5 separate regions of the Homo sapiens genome follow, and all the other regions are linked to region 5. The links are contacts of gene promoters, found by promoter capture Hi-C in blood cells and fetal thymus (Javierre and others, 2016). All regions are on one chromosome and are shown on one strand. The core of a region is centred on a gene start or on the middle of the fragment in contact, and the rest is flanking DNA. Distances in the headings are between cores, read along the strand shown.

Region 1 (4,135 bases), core at 966-3,465, 360 kb before region 5:
TCATGTACACAAAATGTTGCAGGTATCCTCAGTGGCTTTACAAATCCCTAAATCTCATTCTTAGGGAGGGCTGCTAGAACATAAAAAAATCTGCACTGTGCCCTAGATCATGAGAAACTTGATTGTTTTCTCACCATAACGTTTTTGGATCAAAAACATCAGGAAAGAAGCCAGGCCTCATCACAGGCCAATTTATGAAAAGCCAAGATTACGGGGGGTAGAGCACTGAAGTAAGTAAGTATACAACAGTAAGATAAACAACACATACTGCAGTTTTACTGAGGTCATAAAATTATATGAATACACAGTGGAATTCTACATATGGGGGCATAATCATTCAGGGAAAATGACTCCTATTATAAAACAGCCATGTGCGATGCCTCCAGCTTTGTTCTTTTGGCTTAGGATTGATTTGGCGATGCGGGCTCTTTTATGGTTCCATATGAACTTTAAAGTAGTTTTTTCCAATTCTGTGAAGAAAGTCATTGGTAGCTTGATGGGGATGGCATTGAATCTGTAAATTACCTTGGGCAGTATGGCCATTTTCACGATATTGATTCTTCCTACCCATGAGCATGGAATGTTCTTCCGTTTGTTTGTATCCTCTTTTATTTCCTCAAGCAGTGGTTTGTAGTTCTCCTTGAAGAGGTCCTTCACATCCCTTGTAAGTTGGATTCCTAGGTATTTTATTCTCTTTGAAGCAATTGTGAACGGGAGTTCACTCATGATTTGGCTCTCTGTTTGTCTGTTGTTGGTGTATAAGAATGCTTGTGATTTTTGTACATTGATTTTGTATCCTGAGACTTTGCTGAAGTTGCTTATCAGCTTAAGGAGATTTTGGGCTGAGACAATGGGGTTTTCTAGATATATAATCATGTCGTCTGCAAACAGGGACAATTTGACTTCCTCTTTTCTTAATTGAATACCCTTTATTTCCTTCTCCTGCCTAATTGCCCTGGCCAGAACTTCCAACAATGAGATACCATCTCACACCAGTTAGAATCGCAATCATTAAAAAGTCAGGAAACAACAGGTGCTGGAGAGGATGTGGAGAAATAGGAACACTTTTACACTGTTGGTGGGACTGTAAACTTGTTCAACCATTGTGGAAGTCAGTGTGGCGATTCCTCAGGGATCTAGAACTAGAAATACCATTTGACCCAGCCATCCCATTACTGGGTATATACCCAAAGGACTATAAATCATGCTGCTATAAAGACACATGCACACGTATGTTTATTGCGGCATTATTCACAATAGCAAAGACTTGGAACCAACCCAAATGTCCAACAATGATAGACTGGATTAAGAAAATGTGGCACATATACACCATGGAATACTATGCAGCCATAAGAAATGATGAGTTCATGTCCTTTGTAGGGACATGGATGAAACTGGAAATCATCATTCTCAATAAACTATCACAAGAACAAAAAACCAAATACCACATATTCTCACTCATAGGTGGGAATTGAACAATGAGAACACATGGATGCAGGAAGGGGAACATCACACTCTGGGGACTGTTGTGGGTTGGGGGGAGGGGGGAGGGACAGCATTGGGAGATATACCTAACGCTAGATGAAGAGTTAGTGGGTGCAGCGCACCAGCATGGCACACGTATACATATGTAACTAACCTTCACATTGTGCACATGTACCCTAAAACTTAAAGTATAATAATAATAAATAAATACATAAAAATAAAAAAATAGCCATGTGCTATGTAAATTGTTTTACTTTGGACACAACTGTGAGTCTGAAAAGAAATTATTTTATTAATAAAAGATATGTTCAACAGTCCGTCCTTCATGCCAAAAATTAGATTATTCCCTTATTTGATTGTTTGATTTGGATCACACTTAGTTGGGAACTCAGCATAGTTTATCATTAATGCTAATTATGAATTAAATCTTGACAGTCATTGGACCTCATAAAATAGATTTTTAAGCTTTGCTAAAGCATTTGTGAAAGTGAGACCTAAAATTAAACATATAATATTTTTTAAAAGTAGTCATTTTATTTCATTTTGGATAACTAGTGTCAGAAGTTTTCAAGTACATACTGTGAGTCAAACTGGTGCCTAACAGTTACACCAAAATTTTCAGACCACTCATCAGAGCTTTGTTGCAAATTTAAACATACTCCCTGCTACTCCAATCCTGTTGCCGTCTGGAGATACATACTTCCCTTGTTATAAGATACAGCCACAAATTAAGACTCTTAGGGAGAGAAAAATCATGATACTGACAGTTAGAAAAATGTCTCTGCCCCTGTCCATCAAGAACCATTACCACACAGCATCTGCAAAGGAGACTCTAATTAGAGAACATTCCCAATCATGTTTTAAAACATCCAGCAGCATGGCCACATGCAGGCAAACACTCCTGCACCATTAATCTTCATTCAAACTGTTAGGATGTTTGTCTAGGCTTGACCCAGACCAAGCACTACAGATAGATTAGCTAGAGTAAAGCTTCCATTTCTCACCACATGTCAAGGCAGGTGGAATATTCTGTTGAGCCTAGAAGGACATCTGGAGGTCTGTACCACAAGGTAACCACTTCGTTGGAGTATGTGTGGCTAGGGACGGATTTTGCTCTTGCAAGACCTGTGGGTTATATGAAACATAAAGAAGTTTAACAGGCATTAGCAAAACAAGGGAATTTAAATTTGAACGTTCACATTCTTAAAGGTCAAACCCGACCTTTTAATACAGAATCAGGAGTGCAGTATCAAGGTTAATAGAAAACTGGGGAAAGCATATTGTGGTTTCTGTTTTTAACACATGCTAATAACCATTAAAACATTTCTATTTCCTAATAAAGCACTGATGTCATGAATCTAATAAAATATCAGCAGAGTAAACAAATAATTCACAAACTATCATAACACAGGAGCTTAGAAGTCTCTTGAATTTTTCAGATTTATAAGTATTGTGAGAAAGGGTTCCTTGGTCAAATAACTGAGAAAAAACAGATTTAGAAACTTAAAGAATCCTTAAATTGTGAAACTTCTCAGTTTTCTTAATTGTTCTAATGCGTATTGTGAATCTGCAAGAGGAGAGTATAATACTTTCCCCAAAGAATTGTCCTAAAATTTCTTGTGGTTTCAGTGTTCTGTCAAATACTCACTAGGAAATGCTTATTGCAGAAGCTCTTTTGAAAAAACATCTAAATAAATAACTATAAAGGAATAGTCAAATCTGGTACATACATTGATGAGATTATATATGATAAATTAAAATGTCCTCTAAGAATTTTTTTAAACTGGGAAGATGTTAAGTGAAAAGGTATACGCAATTTGACCTCATAACCATAAATACTCATGCACAGAAAAAATATTTGTAGGTCTGTTTTTTTTTCCCTCTAAAAAAAAAAAAGGGCCGGGCGCGGTGGCTCACGCCTGTAATCCCAGCACTTTGGGAGGCCGAGGCGGGCGGATCACGAGGTCAGGAGATCGAGACCATCCCGGCTAAACCGGTGAAACCCCGTCTCTACTAAAAATACAAAAAAATTAGCCGGGCGTAGTGGCGGGCGCCTGTAGTCCCAGCTACTTGGGAGGCTGAGGCAGGAGAATGGCGTGAACCCGGGAGGCGGAGCTTGCAGTGAGCCGAGATCCCGCCACTGCACTCCAGCCTGGGTGATAGAGCGAGACTCCGTCTCAAAAAAAAAAAAAAAAAAAAAAAAGAAAAAAGTTTGGCAGAAAATACATTTAAATGTCTTCAGTGGTTACCTCTGGAATATGGGATTATCTTTATTTTTTAGTAAGTTTTTCTGAGTGTTTTCCCAAGATTTGTGGAATGAATGTGCAATTATTTTAAAAATCACAAAATCTATAGATGTCATTTTTTAAAAGAAAAAAACCTGTGTGACAGCTTTCTATCTAGCTGTATTCATTAGTGACAAGTATAAAGTATTATTTACTGTTATGTTTATAGCACTTAAAACATTTTTACAGTGAACCTACCATAACATATTCATTTTAATGTTCTATTTAAAAATTTTTATGTAGTAAGGAAATGGCTTTTTCTTATTTATTAAATGTAGCATTCCATTTTCAGTATTATATGTAAATTTTAAAGTTAATAAGACAGCTGGTAAGACAAAGAATTTCTAATTAATTCAGCCATGGTT
Region 2 (4,046 bases), core at 1,234-3,733, 460 kb before region 5:
CCTGTTGTGGGGTGGGGGGAGGCGGGAGGGATAGCATTAGGAGATATTCCTAATGTTAAATGATGAGTTAATGGGTGCAGCACACCAACATGGCACATGTATACATATGTAACCAACCTGCACATTGTGCACATGTACCCTAAAAGTTAAAGTATAATTAAAAAAAAAGAATTTTCACATGCTGAAAAATTTATATGAATATTCAGATTACCGAACACCATGCTGTTCTCTGTGCTTCCAATATTTCCAGGCACCTAAGAGAGAAAATCTTCATCCTACCCTTGGGTCAACCACTTAGTCACGAATCTCTCATAGTGGTGTGGAATCCCCGGTCAAACTGGACAGCTGTGCAAGCTTTTGGCTTAGTGAAGTCCCACTTCTTCCCTAAAGATACAGTGTCCTACTCAAGGTACTGTGGTCAACACCCACCTTGAAGACGAGGGACAACGTTTTCTTGTTTTACATCCAAACTTCCAATCCCCTCATCTCCCTTCCTAAGATCTTGATTTTTAAAAGTTTTTGGAAAGGGACCTAAAAGTTCAGGGTGAGGAGTTATGGAGGACTTTATACAATGCATAGATTCCTAGTTATATACTTGCCGGCATTAATTTGTGGGAAGGATAAACATAAAACATTAGGTTACAAACTTAGGAAGGCAATTAAAAGTGTACGGCCAGTTTATGGAAATGCCACTGGTATATAACAACTCAACCAAATGTTTTATTTTAAAAGAGATGACAGTTCTTTCAGTATCAAGTAAATCGTCCCTGTCTTCATTTAATTCTGCTATAAATTCTTAGGCTAAAAGTTAAATTCTTTTCTTCAATATGACTTTAACCAAATTATACAAATTGGACAGTATACAAGACTTTTAATACTCTTAGGTGGGTTGGAATTACTGAAGAGGTAAAGAAGTCTTTATATGGTGATTGGCCCTCTATATCAACTTTAGCGATATGAGGTGTGAATAACTCCCAAAATAAATTTTACAAAATTCCAGCGAGTAGAACTAATAAAACCAGTTTATTTGGGATTTTTAAAAATAAGTCTGCTATCAGTAGAACTTCATTTTCCCTTGAAAATTTAATCTTACTACTTTTTTTTCTGGCATTTTCTAGACATTCTGCTAGTCTCCATCATTACTGATGCCCTCTAGTGAAAATAAATGTGAAATTCTTCAAGTACATCCAGACAAAGTACAGATTGTCCCTCCTTTGTACTGAAATGGGTTTACAACATTCCTACAGGGATTTCCCTTCTTAACCTACCTATTGTAGGGGAAATGAATTGCTAATTTTACATTTTTAAGTGATTATCAAGGTTTTTGGTTGTTTCTTTTTTATTTTTATTTCATATCGTTGGCCATATCTACGATTTATTTTATAACAAATCCCTGGTCAGCTATGGACCTATGAGGAAAAATATCCTTTGTGTCTCTGGCATCACTGCTAACTGGTAGGAGAATAATTTCCCTGTGAGTTAGTACTCGCTTTTATAGACCCTTCTTGACCCAGGGCTGCAGGCAGAAATGACCAATCAAGAGGATTTCACACTTCAGATGAAACCTCTTTCCAGCTCTGAAATGAGTCCGTGACTTTTTGTAGCCTGTAGGTCTTTCTGAAAACATAAAGCATTGATTTCTTCCTCTCTTCAAAACCCTCCGATGATTCCACTCACACTTCAAGTAAAATCCTGACTCTTCACCTTGGCTTTCCAAGGACCTGCCCCCCTGAATTGTTTCTTGCCGCTGTCCCTGTGCTCACAGGCATGGTAAGTTGTAATTTGTCTATTATTAGTCCCCTCTCTAGCATGTGAGCTCTGCAAGAAAAAGGATTCATCCGCTTTGTTCAAACTGCATCTTTAGCACCCACAATACTGCCTGGCACCTAGTAAGCACTCAACAGGAATCCAAGCTCATAAGCAGATGTAAAGCAGTTACTGCTGATGCAAACACCGACTCTCAACTTTAGCATCTGCTCTCCAGCAACCACCAGTGACCTCCCAGTATGGCTGGCTCAACCAGAAAGTGCAGTCTGCCCTTCCTGTCATGTTTACATATTTTACTTCCTTAGCTTTATAATGTTCACATAGTTCATAAATTTAGTAATTAACTGGCTTTTTCACTATGTGATTAAAGCAGCATTTATTTGTGGGAGGAGGGACAGCAAAGTTCACAAAGGTGATAGCTGATGGTGGGTGGGGAGAGCTCTAAATACCCTAAGGCTTGTGTCAAGCAGACCCACAAGGCTTTTAGCAATAAAATCTGAGATAAAAAGCAGATATTTACGTAATAATTTTTAAAGTCCATTTTAATAACCATCACATAGTTACAGCCCATACACCTAGACCTAACCCATAATCATTATAGTTGCTATCAATCATAAAAATAATTTAAAATTCCTGAGGTAAAGTGTAAAGAGTAAGTGGGAAAGGAGATAGCAGGCAGAGCACATGGTATATAAATGGTAAAAAAAAAAAAAAAAAAAAAAATTATTTTGCAGTTACATGCCCCTAACAGTTTAAAAGTACTTTTATATCAATTATGTCAGCTAGCTCAAATCTGCTTAAAAATAGGTAGAGTATAAATAACAAATATTGAAGGGAATGTAAAAATAGTTTATCTCATTTAATTTACGTAGCAAGTCTGTAGGCTGGATGGAGCAGACATGACTCTTCTAGAAGAGTAAGGAAGGTATCTCAGCACTTCACAGGCCTCCCCTCACTGCAGGTGTGGTCTGTGCAGGGCAACATCATGGCACAAAGAGCCCCCCCGCAGTCTTCCTGCATGGAATATCCCACCCCGACAACAATTTCTGCTGCATCCACAGCTTTTCTATCACCTTCTAAAAGACTCAGGAAAAGCCAAGAATGTCAATAAAGGCTAAGGGTTCAAACATCCTCACATCTGCAAATGAGGAAAGTGGGCAGTTCCGATAGTATGTGTTAAGGACTACACATCTGAGACTAAACATCTGCAGAGGAGATTTTGGAGCTGATGATTTATTGGAGGCATAGGTTTAAAGGGCGGAAGAATATGCCCATACCTAGCAAGTGGAGGGTGGATCTGGTATGTACAAGAAGACAGAGGTCTTTTCCAAGATGCCACAAGACAGAGTTGGGAAGAGCCTGACAATTCTCCTTCGTAGGTCTAGGTCTGTGGGCAGGGAAGCTCTCTTAAAGAGAGGAGGAGGCATCACTGAGAATGGCTTAGAGTTGAAAGACCTGGGTTTGAGTTTTGGCTCTGCTACAGCCTGGAGGGATGAGATCTCTGGGCAAACCACACTATCTCTCTGAGCCTCAATTTCCCAGTTTCTTCATCTGTAAATGGGATAACAATATTAGGAAAAAAGCATTATTATAATGCAGTTATTCTAACTATCAAATGAGATAATATATTAAAATGCTTTGTAAATAATAAAATATAGCATAAAACGTAAGGTGTTATCACCATAGTATTTTATTTCTGAAATGATTTACTTCCTCCCTCTGGAACAAAAAAGTGTGGACCTGTTTGGTTTTGGGGTCCCAGTCAGGCCAGAGAAGAGGAAGGACTTAAAGAGACGGCTTTTTTTTTTGCCTCATTACAAAGCCTTGATACAGCTAAGTCCGTATGTAAACATTCCCTTTAAGGTCAATGTGTCTGTAGGATTAGTTTTTAGCAGAGTGTGTTTAAAATATCACCATTCCCCAATTGCCTCCAATGGCAAATTCTTTATATTATTTCATTCGTTGGGAGACAGTCCATTTTCTTCAAAGTTTCCTGAATCAAATAGTCTTTTCCATTGGCTAACTTTTCCTTAGAAGTAATATAACCACTTTAGAAATGCTCTATTCTCTTGCTTGATTTTGGAAAATATAATTATTTTATTCTAAATTTCATCACTTTTAATTGCTTCTGGTCTAGCAGCATTTTTTTCCTCACTGAACTTCACAGTGTATTCCTTTTTGAGCATCTGAATAATCCATTAAATAGTTTTTGAATGTACCTTTCCCTTTTGTTGGAAGCATTTGAGAGATGAAAGTATCATACATGGAATCTACACATT
Region 3 (3,649 bases), core at 1,150-3,649, 420 kb after region 5:
AATATCCTTTAATTCCCTTTTTCCTCAATTTTCTTTCCTTTTTAAAAATTTATAATCTATTTCTTATTTCTGAAAAAAAACTTTTTCTTTAACATAATCGTGAAGCAAACAAGATACATCATTTGAAAAAACAAAACAGAAATGTAGAACAAGGAAGTTAGGCTAGATAAACACTAAGATTTCCTTTAGCTCATAAACTTAAATAATAAATCTTAGGCATTTTGTATTCAGCATCAATGAACTCCTTGAATAATAATGGAAAATATTTTTAATGATAAAATTATACAAACTATGTTTTTTGATGCTTTTTCATCCAATTGTAAAATTCTAAGAACATTTAAAAGGTATTTATGGGCTTGAAAAAACTGACATTCTTCTCTATTAAGTATCTTATTCATAAGAGGCCAAATCTTGATATTCAATAGAGTTTGTGCAACACAGCAAACAAGGAAGTGGAACAATGCAAAGAAAACAAATTCATCACTCCCCTGCCTCCCTTGCCCCACACCTTGGAGTCACTGAATACTTTTTCTTTGAAGTCTAGAAAAATCTCTTCTTGCATGATTTGATTGGTGCCTTCCCTAGATATTTTGCATTTACTTTCCCTGCATTCAGTTGAATATTTTCATGAAAAATAGAGCCTTGTTCAAAAACATTTGTTTTTGCAACTGTGAAAGATCTAGCAAAAGCACTGGTAATTTTAGTGATTTTCTAAAATCACACAGCAGAGTTTTTGTCATTGGAAATACACTACTGGAAATACAAAGTTTTCTTAAGTCATGTAGGAACATCAAAAGGACCAAGCTGATGCAATATTCACATAACAATTGTTTGATGAAAGCAAGGGAATTTCCAGTCAACCATTTCTAACCACACTTCACCTGGCTAACATTAGGGCTATTTGACTTTTTAATTCTATTTGCATTAAGAAAGGCAAGCCAAGAGAGAATCAAGAGTCAATTTGTTTCATAACTTTCCTTGCATGATGCTGTTCTTTTTCTCTGTTTCTCACTCTAGCTTCCCTCTTGTTGACAGTTCATCTCACATAGGCTGTTTATAATGGAGAAGAAATTATCTTTCAGGATAAAGGCAGAATGCCAAAGTGGGTGGCAAACTTTTGGCAGTATTCTGGGTTTTCTTAAACACAATGCACATTCTTTTTCCTTTATCCCCTTAGAAGCGAAAAATGAAACTCACCAACTTTTATGGAACAAATTTAGTTCAGCCTTCAGCTGACCTAGTGTTCTTTTTTTCTGTAGTTACCTCATGTAGAAGATTCTTGAGCATTCTTGTGTAAGATTATTAAAAAATATATTTTGCTCCTTTTTTTTTGGTATGACTTTGCAGTATACCAGTGTAACTTAACAATAAAATTCCTCTTTTCATGTCACAAGTTTGGTTGCCCTAGTTTAAAATTATATGTTGAATTATGAAAATCAAGCATTTATTTACCAAGGAGAAAAGAGAATTCTACTTTGGAATTGTTTATATAGGCTTAGTGTAATTTCCCACTCATATTTTTTTCCTAACAAGTGGTCTGGAAAGCCATTCCTCCTCTACTAGTGATATTATACAAATGTAAAGAAAATCTGAAATCATTTTTATTTTCACTGACTTCTCATGAATGAATCCCAATTTCTGTATTATTTGCTGAAAAGAATGAAAAGATTGATTTTGTCAAAATGCACTACTGTGAGGAAAGAAACGTGGTTTGCGATTGAATAATAGAGTAAAATACTGGCCTATATTAAAATAGTTGGCCTTAAAGAAAATTCGGAGAGACTAGATTTGGATTGTACATATAAAAACAATATGTTATTTCTCTAGCCTATGTAATATAGATTTAGAAAACTAGTTAAGTATAGAAAGCTTAGGCAATAATGGGCTATTTTGTAGTTGCATTTCAAGTTTTTGAAACAATTTTCATTAAGTTTCACATTAGATTTGCTTTTTGTTAAGTTAAAAAATAAATCTCTAAAAGGAAGAAATGGTGGCTGTTCACTCAAAAGCATATCTCACTATCTTGACTAGTCCATGGGATTTTAATAGTTATTCTGGAAATACTTTTGAAGAGGAACTATCAATGAAGTTTTGCTTAATTGTTAGGGCTGGGTATCTAAAAACTGAAGTGAAACCCAGAGATGGGTCAGGAAGTCGTAGTGGTGACTAACAGAGGTGACTAATGGAGGTGTCAGATTGTTCATGGCCTTCTGTGCCACCAGAAAGAATTTTGCCATAAAGTATTTATGAGCAGTCATTGAACAATGCCTGGATGTGGGTTTTTAAGTGTCTCTTTTCCTAGCACTGTTACATACTCTATTCTTTTGGTAACCCGAAGCAGTCGCAGAACTTACTGAGCTGGTGAGCTCATTAGGCCAGGACTGAAGATTCTGCCAGGCGTGGGGAGATTTGCTTTGTTTTGCACCTTTGGACTCTTCTCCAAGCCTTCCAATGACACAGATGTACATACTTTATCACAAACAGGAGAAAACACGAGAGTATAGAAGGATTGGTGCTGAGCTGTCAGCATGACATGGTGGCACCAGTACTGGCTACAAAGTCAGGAGGCCTGCCTCCCAGCCCTTGTTCTGCCACCCACAAGCTCATGACTCTGGAAAAGTCTCCGTATGCTGGCTTCATTGTCAGTTATCAGGGAGACTTCATAGGGGTTTATAATTTGAAATGATGCTAGTTAGCATTTACAGATATTATATTGGATTACAGATATTAGATTATAGATTATATTACAGATATTGGATTATAGATGTGTAGACATTAGAATGTCTTCGTATAAATGCTGCTTCTTATGAGAGACGGATGCTAGCTGGATTTTAGAGAAGCAGTTGGGTGATGATACATTGGCACCAGCCCATTTATAGCTGGGACCAGAATTATAATTGCCTCTTTCCCTTCAGAACATGAAGCTTTGTGAGAAAAATGATAATTTTAGTACACTTAGCTCACTATTGATGACATCCCTTCTAGCAATACCATCTACTGCCCAGCTTTTTCTAGAGCCAAATCTTAGCAATGTGCATAATCACCTACTTTGTCTCCTCAATTATTTGGAATCAGATTCTTCTTTCCAAAGAAAAAAGTCTGTTTCTTCCTTATGGAAGTTTTTGGGATTTTTCTCTTTATCCTTGGTGGCCTGAAGTTCCATCAAGCTTGCAAAGGCGTGCATTCCTCCCCTCCCTCCTCAGCCCCTTCATCTTACAGAGGTTTTGCTCTGAAGTCTAGTGTCTTTCTCTAGCTCCAAGAAATTTCCCTCCATTATTTATTTGTTTTCTTATTTTATTGCTTCTATTGCATCCTTCTGAAACTTACACAATGGGTATTTGAGATCATTTGGGTCTCTTTTCATGCCCCTTAACTCTTCTTTAAAGTTTTCCATTTTATGAATTTTTTCTTTTGAACTGTGTTCTGGGAGAATCCCTCAGTTTAGACGTTTAGTTCTGTAAATTAATCTTCAGCTATATCTATTTTGGAAATTAGTTTCCCTATTAATATGTAAAGTTTTCTCCTTTTTGGATCCTGGGTGTAAATAGTTAATCACACCATCTTAATTCATAGCACAGTTTTATAATTTGCCCATGTGTCTTGTTTCATTCATTCATTCATTTTTAATTTGTATAAATTTAGGGAATAC
Region 4 (3,693 bases), core at 776-3,275, 420 kb before region 5:
TTTGGGTGGGGACACACAGCCAAACCATATCAATGCCCTTGTAAGGAGTTGAGGAGATAGAGTTTTCCCCTTCTACCATGTGTAGACTCTGCAAGAAGATATTTTTTATTTATTAATTTTTTTGTGTGAGAAAGAGGGCCCTCATCAGATACCAAATATGCCAGGGCCTTCCCAGCCTCCAGAACTATGAGAAGTAAGTTTCCATTGTTTATAATTTACCCAGCTTATGGTATTTTGTTATGGCAACTCAAAGAGACTAAGACAGTTCTCTTATGTTCATGATACAGACAAGGGTCAGGAAGTGAAGTTCATTGTATGAGGACAAACAGCTAGTAAATGGAAGAGGAAGAAGAAGAATGGGGAGCTCACACCCAAAGGCCTAGGTTCTTTCTACAAGATCACACTGCTCCTCAGGCTTTAGAACAAAGATGGCTTCCTTTCCTTCCTGTTTCTTTTGCTTCCTTTGTACTGAAGATTTCAAATTTATCCAGTATGTATGTACTTGCCATTTACGTCATCAGTTATAAATTCACTCAGAAATACCACTGTCCCCCATGCCTCTTTTAGGAAACATGGTCACATTTATATGTCTGCTGTTTGCCAGCACAACCTCTGTCTGATGCACAGTAGATCTAATTTGGTTTCATCCAATCCCCGAAATTGGATGAAGCTGGTTTGCAGCCCATTTTTAGTTATGAAAATAATCTGGAAGGCTGGCTAGCATTTGTACCCTAGTGGCCCTGTAATTCAAAAGGGCTTGTTATCTCTGTGCACAGATTCACCTACTCAGAGAACAAAAGCAATATCAGAACACACTGGTGTTAGCCCTTCCTAAAAGAGTTATGTGAAGGCAGAGCCCTTCCAGACGCTGTGATACTCATCCATCATATAGCAGTGCCCATTTATTCTGTCTATGTCAAACACAAACACCTATCGACCATCTGAAGTAATCAATAATAGCAATACACAGACCAAAAGTCCATCATTCAGGCAGCACCACCAAGCACCTACTGCTGAGCCTAAAGTGTATATGAAAGCTGACCTGGAGATACCTTGTTTTAAAAGAGTTCATCTCTCTAAAAGCATTTTAAACTCCAACTTTAAAAATTATTAGGAAAATATCACATATGAAAAACAAAATAACAATTAACAATATTTGAGAGTATTTAATAAAAAGTGAGTCTGTTAGCATAGGCCCAGTCCTGAGCCCTGTAAGAAACCACCAGCTAGAAATCCTCCCTGCATGCCCTGGATATTGTATCATGTCCATCTGTTTAGCCACTTTCTCTTCCTTCCTCTAATGTGAACTTAGACCTAGTTTGTACTTAGCTTTTTTCCTTTATATATCTTAAAGAGCTTCTTCTATTGGAGAAAACAGTGGGGAATAAATTCTTAAGTCAATCACTCTTAAAAAGTGAAATATATCTCACTAAGAAGTATTAACTTCATAGAAAATAGACCTGTGTACTTAAATTATTTTTGCTCATTACAAATACATTCCAGCAGATAAAGTGAAGAAAGGAAACACCACTGGGGGCTCAAGAACAGTCAAAAAAGAGCCCCATAGGAATTTTGCCTGCCTTCTTCCTTAATATCATTTTGTTGCTTATTTCCCTTTCTTCTTTTTCTTAATAGGAAAAATAGGCCCAATGAAGTTTTTGGGAGGCTTTCGCAAAGGTCCCTTCTAGGTCATCTTCTGTGCCTTCACTGGTGTATGCGAAGTTACTATAGACAATGCTTTGTTTAGTTTTGTTTGAAAGTTTGGCTTATGAAAAAATATCACTCCTATTCCTCTAATAGAATCTAGGTTCCGAAACCTTAAAACATGCTATAGATGATGAATATAAAAACTACCTAGCATACATAGTAGCAGTGGATTTGCCACAGCAAGGTCAGAGATAAATATGTTATTCAAATTTCAAACGCACCCTACAATTCTGCTTAAGACCTGAACTGCAAAGCTCTCAAGAAGTACTCCCTCAACATCTGAAATAATTGAAAACCAGGTTGGGTGGGCTGAGGAGGGGTAGTTAAAATGCATAACTCACTTTCAAAAGAGGTTGATAGTCTAGCTGGAGCCATATGGTACCATAAAACAGGGTATAATCTAAATTTAAGTATCTATCTAGTTCATTGTACCACCTAGGATAATGGCTTGATGGCTTTTCATCAATATATGAGAGCATGTTTAGGACCGTCTAAATTGAGGAATACAAAATTCAGTCTGTGATTCCTGAAAGGCCACAAAAAATCATGGTAAAATGAGAGGCGTGTGTAAAGGGTGATTGGTAGAAACAAACATGTTAGAGTACTATGTTTTGTCAGCAGAGAAAACACATTGGTTTTCAAATATTCTCAAATCAAAATTCATAATGGAAGAAGTGCTAACCTACAGGCATTGTTCTGAAGGTAGATACTGGTTGTAGGGCTGCTTTTCTTGTGGGCAGCTCTATGTAGCTCCACACAACATCCTCCAGGGTGTTAGCAGCAGGGATCTATTTATTTAATGATGGTTCATATAGGCATTGCTCACTTTAGGTCAGTTATCCATATCTGAAAAGCCAATGTTCTCCATGAAAATACTGATAACCTATTTCCCATTACTTTAAATGAGAAATATTTTGATATAGTACATGTCAACCCCAAAATCCCAATCAACTTCCCAAAATGTAATTAAAACATAGTAATCTGCTAACATGTAAATCATCAACTATCATTTTAGGATGCTTGTTGAAAATCTAACAAATATTTTTGTGAAATGTTTATATGCCTTTTTTTTTTGGTATATAAACACAGAACTGATTCATACCCATATTCCATGAAGTAAGGTATAAAAAAACCAAGACAACCCCATCTCTACTAAAAAAAATACAAAAAATTAGCCGGGCATGGTGGCGGGTGCCTGTAGTCCCAGTTACTCGGGAGGCTGAAGCAGGAGAATGGCTTGAACCCGGGAGGCGGAGCTTGCAGTGAGCCGAGATCATGCCACTGCACTCCAGCCTGGGCAACAAAGCGAGACACAGTCTCAAAAAAAAAAAAAAAAAAAAAAAACCCAAGACATACTCTGCTGGGGTAGGGAGACCCAACAAACCTATTCATTGGGAAGATGAATGCTACAGGATACATCTTCAATTATTGTGAGCAATTCTGGGAGCAGATGGCATATAGGGTAAGTACAATCTGTTTGATCTGAATTGCCAGTGAAGAGTAATTATGAAAAGGAAGAGCATCCTGGGGCTAAAGACCCCATAGCAGTGAAGAATGTACAGAACTTGGGTAAGGGAGTGAAAACAGGGAGTGTCTTGAGGAAGGAGTTAATGCTCAAGGAAAGAAAAATAAGAATGACCTTAATTAGTAAGAAAACTGATCTGATTTGTTAAAGAGGAACAATGGGCAAGTAAGGTTGACACAGATAAGAAGAGATTAAAGTATCTGGACTTCATATAAAGCAGAAAAAAAATTAGCAAAAACACAAATAGATTAAGGCAAAGTCAAATGACACATTACACAGAATATTATCTATTACATAAAGATAGATAGACTCCTATAAGAGAAAAATACTAAGTATGCTAATAAGGAAAATTAGTGACAATGGACATAGGTTTCAAAGACTTAGCTGCAAGCAAGCAATATGAATTTTCATATCAACAAGGAACTAATCATAGACTTTGAAAAACTGAAAGGGGATTTCAC
Region 5 (3,905 bases), core at 324-2,823:
GGAAAGATTTTGCATACCAACACAAAATTTTAAGTCGAAAGACAAAAAAAAAAAAAAAAACTTGGCTAAATTTCGATCCATTGTACTCTCTCACTTGAAGAAAGTTTGCATATCTTACAATGAATGGGTGGAAGGATATCTGTAACACTCATGTGCATCCCAGGGTTTTATTTTAAGGAATTAAGTACCTTTATGTTTAATTTCCATTAACACTTTCGTTAACATGGATGACATTTAAAACAAGTGAAACAAAGACTAGGCAGCTTCCTAGGGACTCGCAGGGGTTATCTTTTGTGTCTATAGCATTCTCTTGCTCAGGGCAGTTACATGTTATTAGTGAAAGTTGTGACAGTAGGGGAGGCAGCTAACTCTTCAGGTTAAAAGGGGTTTTCTATGCCCAGTACTCAAAATCTAACAAACCCATTCCACGTGATACTGCTGTCACCCTATTACAACCTGTGACATGCATTTATTCGTCACTGTCCTAAACACTGTTGGTCAGTTGGTTTGTTGTTTGGTTTAAAGACAACAGCCCCTGAGCTCTATTAAATGGAACAAGTTCGAGAGACATTCCTAAATGTCCAGACAACTCCACAGCGCGCATTTCTCTCCAGCAGCGGGAAGATTCAGAGACCTCGAGACTGAACACCCAAATCTCGCTTTCCAGGACCCGAAGTACCGAACAATAGGTCCCAAGGTAACTGTCCCACTTCCCTTTAGGTTGGATACGTTAAACAATACCAGGGCACAGTCTAACGTTTCACCAATTTCCAAAGCTAAATTACTGACTAAACGCCCAATATCCAAGCCTGTGCGCAAAAAATAACAAGTGGCCCAAGCAGCCGCGCAGCCCCTTGCGCGGTGGGGGCCGAGGGGTCCCCTCGCCCGTCCCCCACGCGCGCGAAAGGGCGAGCACTAGTGGCGGAGGAGGGGAGAACCCATATTGTAGGCTTGAGAGAATCTACAAATGAACCCCCAGATCCTGAGGAAGAGGGGTCTCTTTCCTTTACGTCCTTGCCCTCCCCCGGGTCCCTAGCACTGTGCCCTCGATCCCCGCCTACAACGCACCCCACGCCAGCCCCGCTGGCAGCTGCATGGCTGGTGCCAGGAACGCGGCGGGGGCGCAGGCCGAGGGGAGCGGGCGCTGGGGGGGCCGGGGGCAGCGCGCTACTCACCAATGCGACTGAAACTCTCCGACAAAGTTCTCCGCAACTTCTTCATCTTGCCGATCTTCTCGGCCGGCTGCGGCTCAATGAGGTCACACATCTGGGCGACGCGGAGCCCCGACAACTTCCCCAAACTGGTCCAGGCACAGCTCAGACAACGGCGAGGGCGCGCGCCGCGGGGAAAGCGGCGCCTCCTCCTCCACCACCTCCTCGGCGGGCCGGGAAGCGACGCGCAGGTCTAGGGAGGCGAGCAGCAGGCAGGCGGAGGACGGCAGGCTCCGCTCCGGCCTGGGCCGCAGCTGGGCGGGCGGGGGCGGTTTACGTGGTGCCGGGGGCGGCCGCGCTCGCCGCCGCCGTGGTGGCCCCGCGCCGCGCCGCCGCCGCCCGGCTCATTTTCCCTCCTTTGTAACGGAGAGAAGCGCGGCCGGCAGGGGGAGTGGTGCGGCCGAAGGAGGAGGCGGGGCGGGCCGGGTACAAGGTGCGGGAGTCGCCTGGCGCCGAGTGCGCGGGGCGAGGGCGAGTGGGCCGGCGGGAGAAGTTCTCAGCCCAGAGTTGCGGGCGCAGCGCAGAAGGAGCCGCGGCGCGGAACCGCCAGCCTGACAGCTCCTGCTGCCCTCCTGCTGCCGCCGCCACGCCCCTCCCTCGACGAAGGCCCCTGGGCGCGGGATCCTAGCACGACCTCGGCTCCCCGCTCGCCTCCCGCGTCCTCCGCGGCCCTCTGTGTCTGGCTCGCGCCCCGGCGGCGCCCCCTCCCGGCCGCGCCCCTCCCGGCCGCCCCCGCGCTCCTCCCCCGCCCCGCCCGCGCGCGGGAGGATCACGAAGGGACCGGGGTGGGAGCGGGCAGCGTCTGGGGACAGCGTGTTGGGCTGTGGGGAGGTTACCGAAAGGAAACGGGCCGAGTCCAGTTGTTTGAGCGGTTTTCTCCTTCCACGAGCGTGTGTGAAAAAGCGCGGAGTTCGGTGGAGGGCAGCTGCCAGGACTGCCTCCTGGACTGGGTGCGGTAAGGCCTTAGGGATGCATTCAGATGTAGGGTGCCTTATTTTGGGCCGAGAAAGCTGTCAAGTGAAAGATCCAAGGGGAAAGGTGGGCCTGGATTTTTTTGTTGTTGTTTGCGGTGGGTTTTTTGTTTGTTTTGAGGTCAAGTGCAGAAGCAGCGGAAGCTTCAACTGTAACCCTCCAGAAGGCAGGGATCATGCTGTTTCCCTCATCCTTGTCTCTGATCTTGGTGACACATGTAGGTGATTTCTGATAGGAATACCCAGTTCTGCAGTAAATAGCAGACACAGCCCTTGGTCTTTTTCTATTAAATTCTTAGAATATATTTCTGAATTGGGAGATTTAAAGGCTAAACAGATTCCGACCTCCTTTTCCCCCACCTCAAAAACAGAACTTTAAAAAGGAGTGGGGGAGGTGTTTATAAAATCCCAGGACAAACAGTTCCAGCAGCGAACACACATCGTCTTCATTCTGAAAAAACCTGGTGCGGCGTGAGTTCCAAACGTCAGTCTCCCAGGGGAGAGAGAAGGAAGGTGGGGGAGGGCTTGATTGTGTTGATCTGAGGCCAGCAAACTCCTTATGAATAGAAACGTTAGTAATCTTGAGTCATTTGGCTGTGTAAGTAATAAGAGCTTGTGAGGGTGTGACAATGCTGTTTGGCTTGTAGGAAATTTTGGGGAGTTTATGTTTTGTTAAAAGATTTTTATCTTAAAAACTAGCCCCCTGCCTTCCTTAAATTGTGAGGTAAAACAGTGATTTGTTCCGCCCTACACTGAGCACATTGTAGGATCTTGATAGATTGCGGATGATAAAAGACAGGAAGTCAAGCTAAGTGGGGAGCAGAGGGGGGCAAGGAATTCGCCAGGAAAGACCATATGAGTTAAAACGCAAAGCTGTTGGATCCTGGCTGCCATGTCTAGATAATTACAGACAGCACCAAGGGTGGCCTCATACCGGAAAAAAGTTTGACTTTTACCACTTCCTCAGGTTAGTTAGGGAGAAAGTTTTCAGCAGTTATGAATGAAAAGACAAATGCAACCAATCAAAACACTAATGGGTTGTACGAGTCAACAAACACGAAGAAATATTAATTTAACGAACTTTCACTATTATACACCTGTGACTGTTATCCACTGTGACAATGGCTGTTTCAAATATATAATATGTTAAATATATGTTTATTTTACCTTCGCAGTATTTTTTTTTTTTTTTCCGAGACAGGGCCTGTCGCCCAGGCTGGAGTGCAGTGGCGCCATCTCGGCTGACTGCAACCTTCTCTCCTGGGCTCAAGCCATCCTCCCACCTCAGCCTCCTAAATAGCTGGGACTACGGGTGCGCACCACCACGCCTGGCTAATTTTTGTAGAAACGGGGTTTCATCATGTTACCGACGCTGGTCTCCTACTCTTGAGCTCAAGCAATCCGCCCGCCTTGACCTCCCAAAGTTCTGGGATTACAGGCGTGCACCACCACCATGCTCTTCCCCTTCCCAGTATTTCTGACTTAAAAAAAGTAGTCAGCTTCTTCTTAAATTATGGTAAAAGCATACAAAGGTATGCACCAATTTTCTTAAATGAGATCAGTGTGTACTGATGTGTGAATATGTACAGGCTAATTTGGGAGAAAAGCATGTTTAATATTTTAAACCATTTGTGGAAAAAATGTATACACATCTATGTGTTCCTATATGCATAGAATATTTCTGGAAAAAAGAACAGAAAACTGTTGATTGTATATCCAGAAC

Evidence for each region. Contacts are between HindIII fragments. The CHiCAGO score rates a contact against its expected background, and 5 or more counts as called.
Region 1: a contact is called between a fragment that was not itself captured here and the fragment with the promoter of CDK14 in region 5, in 1 of 17 cell types (total B cells). The highest score is 5.4, in total B cells.
Region 2: a contact is called between a fragment that was not itself captured here and the fragment with the promoter of CDK14 in region 5, in 2 of 17 cell types (total B cells and naive B cells). The highest score is 6.2, in total B cells.
Region 3: a contact is called between a fragment that was not itself captured here and the fragment with the promoter of CDK14 in region 5, in 1 of 17 cell types (monocytes). The highest score is 6.9, in monocytes.
Region 4: a fragment that was not itself captured here is called in contact with the fragment with the promoter of CDK14 in region 5 in 1 of 17 cell types (naive B cells); the score reaches 5.1 in naive B cells.

Annotation. Positions count from the first base shown.
Region 1 is chr7:90,954,172-90,958,306 of GRCh38, reverse strand. CDK14 (cyclin dependent kinase 14) reads right to left here. Exons shown (of 15, transcript NM_001287135.2): 9 at 2,490-2,610. Among named protein-coding and RNA genes, the nearest start is that of FZD1, 310 kb to the left of the region's middle. The HindIII fragment of the contact is 525 bases long and covers 1,953-2,477 here.
Region 2 is chr7:91,052,533-91,056,578 of GRCh38, reverse strand. The region is part of intron 11 of CDK14 (cyclin dependent kinase 14); the gene reads right to left. Among named protein-coding and RNA genes, the nearest start is that of FZD1, 210 kb to the left of the region's middle. The HindIII fragment of the contact is 4,253 bases long and covers 357-4,046 here.
Region 3 is chr7:90,177,663-90,181,311 of GRCh38, reverse strand. The region is part of intron 2 of STEAP2-AS1 (STEAP2 antisense RNA 1); the gene reads left to right. Among named protein-coding and RNA genes, the nearest start is that of STEAP1, 25 kb to the right of the region's middle. RefSeq lists enhancers at 579-1,080, 2,299-2,348, 2,359-2,418. The HindIII fragment of the contact is 1,055 bases long and covers 1,872-2,926 here.
Region 4 is chr7:91,014,880-91,018,572 of GRCh38, reverse strand. The region is part of intron 10 of CDK14 (cyclin dependent kinase 14); the gene reads right to left. Among named protein-coding and RNA genes, the nearest start is that of FZD1, 250 kb to the left of the region's middle. The HindIII fragment of the contact is 5,554 bases long and covers 1-3,693 here.
Region 5 is chr7:90,593,989-90,597,893 of GRCh38, reverse strand. CDK14 (cyclin dependent kinase 14) reads right to left here and starts at 1,573. Exons shown (of 15, transcript NM_001287135.2): 1 at 1,176-1,573. The coding sequence starts at 1,266. RefSeq lists silencers at 936-985, 1,046-1,245, 1,436-1,745, 1,766-1,965. The HindIII fragment of the contact is 4,165 bases long and covers 1-2,328 here.